3 separate regions of the Homo sapiens genome follow, and regions 2 and 3 are each linked to region 1. The links are contacts of gene promoters, found by promoter capture Hi-C in blood cells and fetal thymus (Javierre and others, 2016). All regions are on one chromosome and are shown on one strand. The core of a region is centred on a gene start or on the middle of the fragment in contact, and the rest is flanking DNA. Distances in the headings are between cores, read along the strand shown.

Region 1 (2,917 bases), core at 210-2,709:
CAGCCTGGGCTGAGCATATGCTCCGGAACTTGCTTCTCTTCCAACATCCTGCACCTCAGGTCAGCATTCCTTCTTTAAAAGGCCTTGTTGGGTAAGAGCATGTCCACCAACAGAACCCTGTAATTCTCCCTTGTTTTCTCGGACTCCCCTGCGTGCTGCAGAAGCCTGGGCGTTAGTGGGGTAGTCCCGAGTGGAACTGGGCCGAGGTAGGTGCCGGGACGCACTACCTGGATGGGGCCAAATTGGAAGGAGATTCGCCCTGACTGAGGTACAGGTGTTTCTTCTCCCCACATGCTGGAACCCAGGAGGCTCCAGGTGCTTCCCCACGAGACATGCCTCGGTATGCAGACTGAGGCCAAGTTCTCGGCGCCCTCAGCCCCGCCAGTAGCGGAACTCCTGCCCGCTGAGCGAGGGCCCTCATGAGAAGGGAAGGTCGCGTGGACAGGCTGCCAGGGGCAAGCGTTTTTAGATTACTTCCTCCTTCTTGGCCCCAGATGCACTTGTGAGTTGGGGGTGTGCGCGGTGGGGTGGGAGGGTGCTTGTGCCCAAAAAGTCTGGGAACGAAAGCTACTGCTGGCTCGAACCCGGACTAGCAAAGTGCGGAAAGCCCGTGGCACAGGAGTGGGTGCCAGGCAGCCCGCACGCAGGTGACCGGCGGACCCCCTCCCCAGGCCCGGGCGGCGGCGGGGCGGGGTGGGGTGGGACTGACCCCTGGCTCCGCCCCGCGGCGCCCCCCGCTGGGCCCCGTTTCCTCCCCCCCCCTCGCGTCCCCGCCGCCCGCACTCACAGCGCTTGGGTGAAGGCGCTGAGCCCCTCGGGCACGGCCGTCAGCCCCTTCCCGGAGCAGTCCACCCGACGGTCGCCGTCGCAGCTGCAGGGCGCCGCGCAGAGAGGCGGCGCCGCGCCGCTGGGCCCGGCCGAGCCGAGCAGCCCCAGGGCGAGGAAGCAGAGCAGCCCTAGCGGGCCCGGCATTGCTGCGGCCGCCTCCCGCGCCGGCCTCTCCCGCGGCGCTGCTCGCTCCGCTGCCCTCCGATGTCCCCCGCCGCCCCCGGGCAGCCGGCCTGCGGGCTGGAGCGGGGGTCTCTTCCTCGGCGGTCCGCGCGGGCTCGGCCCCTTCAGCAGTCCGCCGCAGCGGCGCAGGGACGCGGCGCTCCGGAGTTTCGCCCTTCCCGCTGCTCCATGGACGCGCAGAGGCAGCCCCGCTCCTCCGGCGGCTCACGCCAGCCGGGCCGGCCCGGCGCAGCGGCGGGGGCCGCGCTCTGCCATCGCACCGGTCTCCCTGTCCCTGGCCTCTCAATGCAGCGGCTCTTCAAGGTTGCAGAGCGCAGCCTTCAGCCATGCCGGCCACTCGCCCCAGCCCCCGCCGTGGCTCTCGCACAAACACCCAGACTCTGGCTCGCTGTCTCCCAGCCGCGGCTCAATCTCTTCCCGTCCTTTTCCCTTCTAGGGTTGCACGCTCTGGTTCCCAAACCCCCGGCCGCTGGCTTATGCAAATCACTTAGGTACATGCAAAAGTATCCCTTCTCCCGGAGCGCCATTGGCCCGGGGAGGTCTCGAGCTCATTACTATGCAGAGAGGAGAGCCGCCATTGGCCAAGAGGAGGACCAGAGGGGCGTGTTTCTCGGGCGTGAGTGACAAGGTGGTGGTGGTTGTGGTGGTGGCGGCGGTGGTGGTGGTGGTGGTGGCGGCGGTGGTGGTGGTGGTGGTGGTGGTGGTTCAAGGCAAAATCTTGACTTGGCTGGATTTGTCTGGCAGGTTGTGGATTGAAGGTAGAAGGATAGTAGGACAAGGGGTCTAGTTTTTCCCTCCCCCACCCGTCTTTTTGTTCCCTCCGCAGAAATTGGATCTCCTAAATTGGATGACCTGGTAAGTAGAACTTCCCTCCAGCGTTCAGTTAAGTTTTAAATGACTCTCCGCTGTTCCAAAGGGCGAGGACGTCTGGAGCTCTGCAAACGGAAAAAAGATTTTGAAGAGGAGGAAAAAAGTTTCCCTCGATCTGACACACATCTTTGGGTTTTAGCTATACACTAAGTTAAAAGTGTACCCTCTCCAGTGCCTCACTTCACCTGGGATCTTTACACCTATCTTGATACACATTTGGTAGCTAAGTCTTAGCAATTCATTCTCCCCAGTCCTCTCTCTGTATTTGGTGTTTTTGGTGACTGCAAATTAGACTCCTTTCTCACGCACTTTAAAATCCTGAAACACAGGAATTTTGTAAAAGGTCAGAGAAAGTGATGTTTCTGAACACTGGACAATTTCCAAAACATCTGAGTGGGAGGTGACTACGGCTGAGAAGCCAGCAGCAACGTTGGTGTTAGGTAATTATCAGCATTCCCTCCTCTTCTGGATTTTGAGTCCCTGTGGCCTAATAGACCCCACGGAATCATTACCTGTACCAACTACGGCTTTAAGGGTACTTCGTTTCTTGCTCTCTGCCATGGCGTTGAGTCGTTTTACTCTATAATGGAGACATTTTTAATGAATACATTAAAACAAGCAGGATTCGGCCGGGCGCGGTGGCTCACGCCTGTAATCCCAACACTTTGGGAGGCTGCGGCGGGCGGATCACCTGAGGTTGGGAGTTCTAGACCACCCTGACCAACATGAAGAAACCCCGTCTCTACTAAAAATACAAAATTAGCCGGGTGTGGTGGCAGATGCCTGTAATCCCAGCTACTCGGGAGGCTGAGGCAGGCGAATTGCTTGAGCCCGGGAGGCGGAGGTTGCGGTGAGCTGGAGATCGCGCCATTGCATTCCAGCCTGGGCAACAAGAGCAAAACTCTGTCTCAAAAAAAAAAAAAAAAAAAAAAAAAAAAAGCAGGATTTAAAGATAATTATCATATAAAGTTGACTAGCCATCGTATGTAAATAAAACTTAGGACAATGGAAACAGGTTGATGCAGACCTATAAGTT
Region 2 (2,917 bases), core at 197-2,696, 170 kb before region 1:
ACTCTACATATAGACAACCTCAGGCTCTGGATACTGGGCCACTCTTATGAAAAGTTCTGTTCTTTACCCCGTGATCCTCTCCTGCAGTCTAGATTGGGTGACAAACCAACCTAAGCAATAACAACAGCTTCCTACCTTAAACCTCCCAGAAATGGTGTCACAGTTTAAAAGGGATATTTTAAAATGTGAGTAAAAATGCAAGATTCTAATGACTAGAAGAACATTTCAATATCAAGGCAGACCCCTAAGTGTTCCTCTGAATTAGGAAGGTTTTTTTTGGATCTTCTTATGTACTGCCTACTCATCATGCCTTTGCATGTGTCTGAGCTTCTATCATACAACTTTCCTGAGTTTTTCATAGACTCTGCCCACCTACTACAATGTCACCTCAAAAATGTCTTTTCCAGCTCCCCTGGTTGGCAACTCCTGCTTGTTTCCATAGCAGAGTTCATACCTTTATGACTGTGCTATGATACTATCATGATTATATATATTTTTCCCCATATGGCAGTAAATCCAACAACAGGAGCGGGAGGTGCTGAGTTCAAGAACGAACTATACCTCTCATTCTCCAGTTTATTTTGCTTATCTTGATTGCAAATTCAATTTTTTATTTTGATTCTGACACATCCAATTTTGTTTAGCAGTTACTGGCAACACTGTCATGAAGGCACAGAGGCTTCTAAATTAAAAATTAAGGGCTAAACCACTACAAAGCTGGGATTTTAGGTGCAGTTGGGTCCTAACCACCGCTCACTAGACTTTTCACCCATAGTGCTCCTCTTTTCACAATCATTGATTATCTTATTTAAATCAAAATTTCCCAAATTTTAGGTGTTTGAGTTCTACCTTCAAGATTTTTGCCATATTAAAGTAGCACCTGAGCTAATATTTACTGAAAAGCTTTCTTTAACTCAACTTTTAACATCACTTTTGCTTTGTAAGTACTGTAATATCCATGAAATATGAGATTTGACATGCCATTTTTCATGAATACACATTAAACAAAAAACTATTAAAATGAAAAAATGCGGGGCCGGGCGCGGTGGCTCACGCCTGTAATCCCAGCACTTTGGGAGGCCGAGGCGGGCGGATCACGAGGTCAGGAGATCGAGACCATGGTGAAACCCCGTCTCTACTAAAAATACAAAAAATTAGCCGGGCGTGATGGCGGACGCCTGTAGTCCCAGCTACTTGGGAGGCTGAGGCAGGAGAATGGTGTGAACCCAGGAGGCGGAGCTTGCAGTGAGCCGAGATTGCGCCACTGCACTCCAGCCTGGGCGACAGAGCGAGACTCCATCTCAAAAAAAAAAAAAAAAAAAAAAAAAAAAAGCATTAAAATAATCTCATAACTGTTAAAAGTTTAAAAACACCTATGTAGCCATGAAAATCACCTCCAAGTATTATCCATGGCATTACCTGATCCACTTTGTGAAATACTCTTTTTTTTTTGGGACGGAGTCTTGCTCTGTCGCCCAGGCTGGAGTGCAGTGGCCTGATCTCCGCTCACTGCAAGCTCTGTCTCCCGGGTTCACGCTATCCTCCTGCCTCAGCCTCCCCAGTAGCTGGGACTACAGGCGCCCGCCACCACAACCGGCTAATTTTTTTTTGTATTTTTAGTAGCGACGGGGTTTCACCGTGTTAGCCAGGATGGTCTCGATCTCCTGACCTCGTGATCCCCCCGCCTTGGCCTCCCAAAGTGCTGGAATTACAGGCGTGGTGAAATACTCTTTAAAGCCCCCACTACCCACCTCGTGCCTCCTATCCAAACCTATCCCTTCATTCTCAGCAGACCACGCCACCTTCTTGAAAAAGGCAGTCCGTCAGACTTGAATTCCCCCAACTTGCTTCTCGCCATAGTTTCCTACTCCATACAGAGACCTGAAAGCATTACTTCATCTGGTTCCCATCCTTGGATCTACTTGCTCTGCTCTCAGAAGAGAAGTTGCCCTTCTTTCTGTTCAAGAAATGTCCACTTGCTTGTGTTCTGAAGCTTATCCCAGTGGACTGCCTTAAGGATCTTACTCCATCAAATAACTTCTCTCTTGCTTGTCGTTATCTTAATTATTTTGAATTGTGAAATGTTATGCATAGAAAAGAATATAAACATATTTGTTTAAATTAAATAATAATGAAAATACAGGCCGGGGGCAGTGGCTCACACCTGTAATCCCAGCACTTTGGGAGGCCGAGGCAGGCAGATAACGAGGTCAGGAGATCGAGACCATCCTGGCTAACACGGTGAAACCCCGTCTCTACTAAAAAATACAAAAAATTAGCCGGGCGTCATGGCGGGCTCCTGCAGTTCCAGCTACTCGGGAGGCTGAGGCAGGAGAATGGCGTGAACCCGGGAGGCGGAGCTTGCAGTGAGCGGAGATCGCACCACTGCAATCCAGCCTGGGCGACAGAGCAAGACTCCGTCTCAAAAAAATAAATTAAATTAAATAAAAAAGAAAATACAAGCACCCGTATAACCATCACTCAGGTTAATAGAGCGCTACTGATACCTTCAAACACACTTTGTGCACCTCCTTGTTGTATCTCTCTCCCTCTCACCCAAGTGTAAACTAGCCATTCTTTATAGTTTTACTACCTGTGTATGTAGACTTAAGCAGTGTATCATTTAGTTTTGCTTAGTTTTAAATTTTATGTAAATTGAATCATACTGATTATACTCTGACTCATTTCTTTTTCTCAATATTATGCTCCAGAGGTTTATCCATGTGGGTGTGTATAGTGTTAGTTTCTTTATTTTCACTTCTGTGGAGTATTTCATTTCATGACTGATCCACAAGGTTCTTTCATCTGTAGAATATTCCATTACATGACTAATCCACAATGTATTTATCATGTTACTGTTGTTGGGTATTTGAGCTGTTTTGAGCTCTTAGTTATTATAAGAAATACTATTATTTAT
Region 3 (2,917 bases), core at 186-2,685, 130 kb before region 1:
GTGGTGAAACCCCGTCTCTACTAAAAATACAAAAAATTAGTTGGGCGTGGTGGCATACGCCTGTAATCCCAACTACTTGGGAGGCTGAGGCAGGAGAATTGCTTGAACCCAGGAGGCGGAGGTTGCAGTTAGCCGAGATCGTGCCATTGAACTCCAGCCTGGGAGACAGAGCAAGACTCCGTCTCAAAAAAAAAAAAAAAAATCAAAGCTCAAGTAATTCCCCAAGTTGTATCAAAGTTGCTGTATTTCCTTCTTGCTGGGCAGCCAATAGCTGTGAAACAGAATCTTTTCATGCTGAGAACTCAATAGCCATTGGAACAATACTGGATTTTAACTACTTCAAACTGTCAGAAGATCTACAAATTGAAAAGGACCTTGGAGTACATCTTGCTTAATCTCCATGTGACTCATGACTGTCCTCCACAACTTTACCTATAAGAAATCAACCAGTTCTTACATTGTTTTTAATTATAGCAGCTGACATTTATTGAGTGCTAACTATGCCTGTTACCATTCTACATACTTTATTTGTACACACTCTCAATTCTTATAATCATGATGTGAGGTAGATACCATTATTATCCCATTTTACAAAGGAGGAAACTAAGGCACATGGAGGCTAATTTGCCTAAGGTCATAGAGACGGTGAGTGACAGATCACACAGACATCATACAGAAATCAAAATGGGAGAATGTTAAAACCAATTTTATGCCAATAAATTCAATATTTTAAATGAAATGTCAAAATTCCTTAAAATATGCCACTTCCCAAAATGAATTCGAGAAAAAGTAGTGTCTGAATAATCCTCTACTTATAAAAACAATTCAAAATTAAAAACTTTCCTACAAAAACTCCAGTCACTGAAAGCTTCACTAGTTGATTCCATTACAGTTAAAGATACTCCATATTTTAATAACATAAAATATTATTGTGGCATATCTTAATAGTATCAAACCTTAAAAAAATGATTTTAGAACACAGAGAAAAAGTAAACATATCAAAGCTCATTTTAAGAGTCCAGCATTATTCTGACATCAAAACCAGGCATGGAAATTACAAGGTGATATCAGAAACGTTCCATATGAGTGTGGCTGGGAAAAAAACATATATATGTTATAAACATATGTATATGTTATAAACACATGCATGCTGCATGTTATAAACACATGCATGCTGCATGTTACAAACATGTATGCTATATATTATAAACATGTGTGTTACATATATGCTATAACATGTTACTTGTGTTATACGCATTGTTACATGTTATAAACATGTGTACATTACATATATGCTATAAACCTGTGTTGTACATACGTGTAAATATATAAAATATATATTATATATCAGGAACAAGGCAAGATAACTGCCCTCATCAGCAAAAACATGAAATACTGAGAAATATATTTAACAAAATACTGCTATACATTGAAAACTAAAAAACACTGCTAAGAGAAATTAAAGAAGACATAAATAACTGGAAAGAAAAACCATGTTTATAGATTTAAAATTTGATATTATTAAGATAGGAATTTTCTCCAAAATGATCTATGTGTTTATATTTAGCAGAATCCCAATAGTGCCAAGCACTATTAGGACAGGCATTATTAGGGAAATTGATAAGATGATTCTAAACTGTATATGGAAAGATGCAGGGCAACTAAAACAAGTTTGAAAAAGAATTGAAGACCTGGAGGATTTACACTATCTGATTTCAAGAATAATAAAATTCAGAACTATAAAACTATACTAACAAGTTAGTGTGGTACTGCACAGGATATAAATCAATAGAATAGACTAGAATCCAGAAACAGACCTATAAATATGTGGTCAATTGATTTTAAACAAAGGTGCCAAAGGTAGTTTAATAGGGAAAAGATTATCTTGTCAATATTGTTAGGACAATTGGATATCCACATGCAAACAAATGAATCTTGACCGTTAATGCATACTATACATTAAAATTAAACTCAAATAGACATACAGGTAAAGCTAAAGCTATAAAGCTTCTGGAAGAAAACAGTGGAGAGTATTTTTACCCTCTTGTGGTGGGCAAACATTTTTTTTTAATTTTATTATTATTATATTTTAAGTTTTAGGGTACATGTGCACAACGTGCAGGTTTGTTACATATGTATACATGTGCCATGTTGGTGTGCTGCACCCATTAACTCTTCATTTAGCATTAGGTATATATCCTAATGCTATCCCTCACCACTCCACCCACCCCACAACAGGCCCCGGTGTGTGATGTTCCCCTTCCTGTGTCCATGTGTTCTCATTGTTCAGTTCCCACCTATGAGTGAGAACATGCGATGTTTGGTTTTTTGTCCTTGCGACAGTTTGCTGAGAATGATGGTTTCCAGCTTCATCCATGTCCCTACAAAGGACATGAACTCATCATTTTTTATGGCTGCATAGTATTCCATGGTGTATATGTGCCACATTTTCTTAATCCAGTCTATCATTGTTGGACATTTGGGTTGGTTCCAAGTCTTTGCTATTGTGAATAGTGCCGCAATAAACATACACATGCATGTGTCTTTATAGCAGCATGATTTATAATCCTTTGGGTATATACCCAGTAATGGGATGGCTGGGTCAAATGGTATTTCTGGTTCTAGATCCCTGAGGAATTGCCACACTGACTTCCACAATGGTTGAACTAGTTTACAGTCCCACCAACAGTGTAAAAGTGTTCCTATTTCTCCACATCCTCTCCAGCACCTGTTGTTTCCTGACTTTTTAATGATTGCCATTCTAACTGGTGTGAGATGGTATCTCATTGTGGTTTTGATTTGCATTTCTCTGATGGCCATTTCTTAAATAGAATACAAAAACTACCAACAATTAAAAAAACTGAAATATGGAAATTCATCAAAATTTAAAACTTCTCTTTAAAAAATACCATTAATC

What was found. Contacts are between HindIII fragments. The CHiCAGO score rates a contact against its expected background, and 5 or more counts as called.
Region 2: a fragment that was not itself captured here is called in contact with the fragment with the promoter of LGR4 in region 1 in 1 of 17 cell types (erythroblasts); the score reaches 6.0 in erythroblasts.
Region 3: a fragment that was not itself captured here is called in contact with the fragment with the promoter of LGR4 in region 1 in 1 of 17 cell types (erythroblasts); the score reaches 6.3 in erythroblasts.

Annotation. Positions count from the first base shown.
Region 1 is chr11:27,471,331-27,474,247 of GRCh38, forward strand. It overlaps LGR4 (leucine rich repeat containing G protein-coupled receptor 4), which reads right to left and starts at 1,460. Exons shown (of 18, transcript NM_018490.5): 1 at 788-1,460. The coding sequence starts at 972. It overlaps LGR4-AS1 (LGR4 antisense RNA 1), which reads left to right and starts at 401. Exons shown (of 4, transcript NR_131170.1): 1 at 401-502; 2 at 1,448-1,627; 3 at 1,838-1,866. RefSeq lists silencers at 574-633, 884-1,053, 1,184-1,233. The HindIII fragment of the contact is 11,499 bases long and covers 1-2,917 here.
Region 2 is chr11:27,298,456-27,301,372 of GRCh38, forward strand. No RefSeq gene overlaps it. Among named protein-coding and RNA genes, the nearest start is that of CCDC34, 63 kb to the right of the region's middle. The HindIII fragment of the contact is 1,090 bases long and covers 902-1,991 here.
Region 3 is chr11:27,343,217-27,346,133 of GRCh38, forward strand. The region is part of intron 3 of CCDC34 (coiled-coil domain containing 34); the gene reads right to left. Among named protein-coding and RNA genes, the nearest start is that of CCDC34, 19 kb to the right of the region's middle. The HindIII fragment of the contact is 1,139 bases long and covers 867-2,005 here.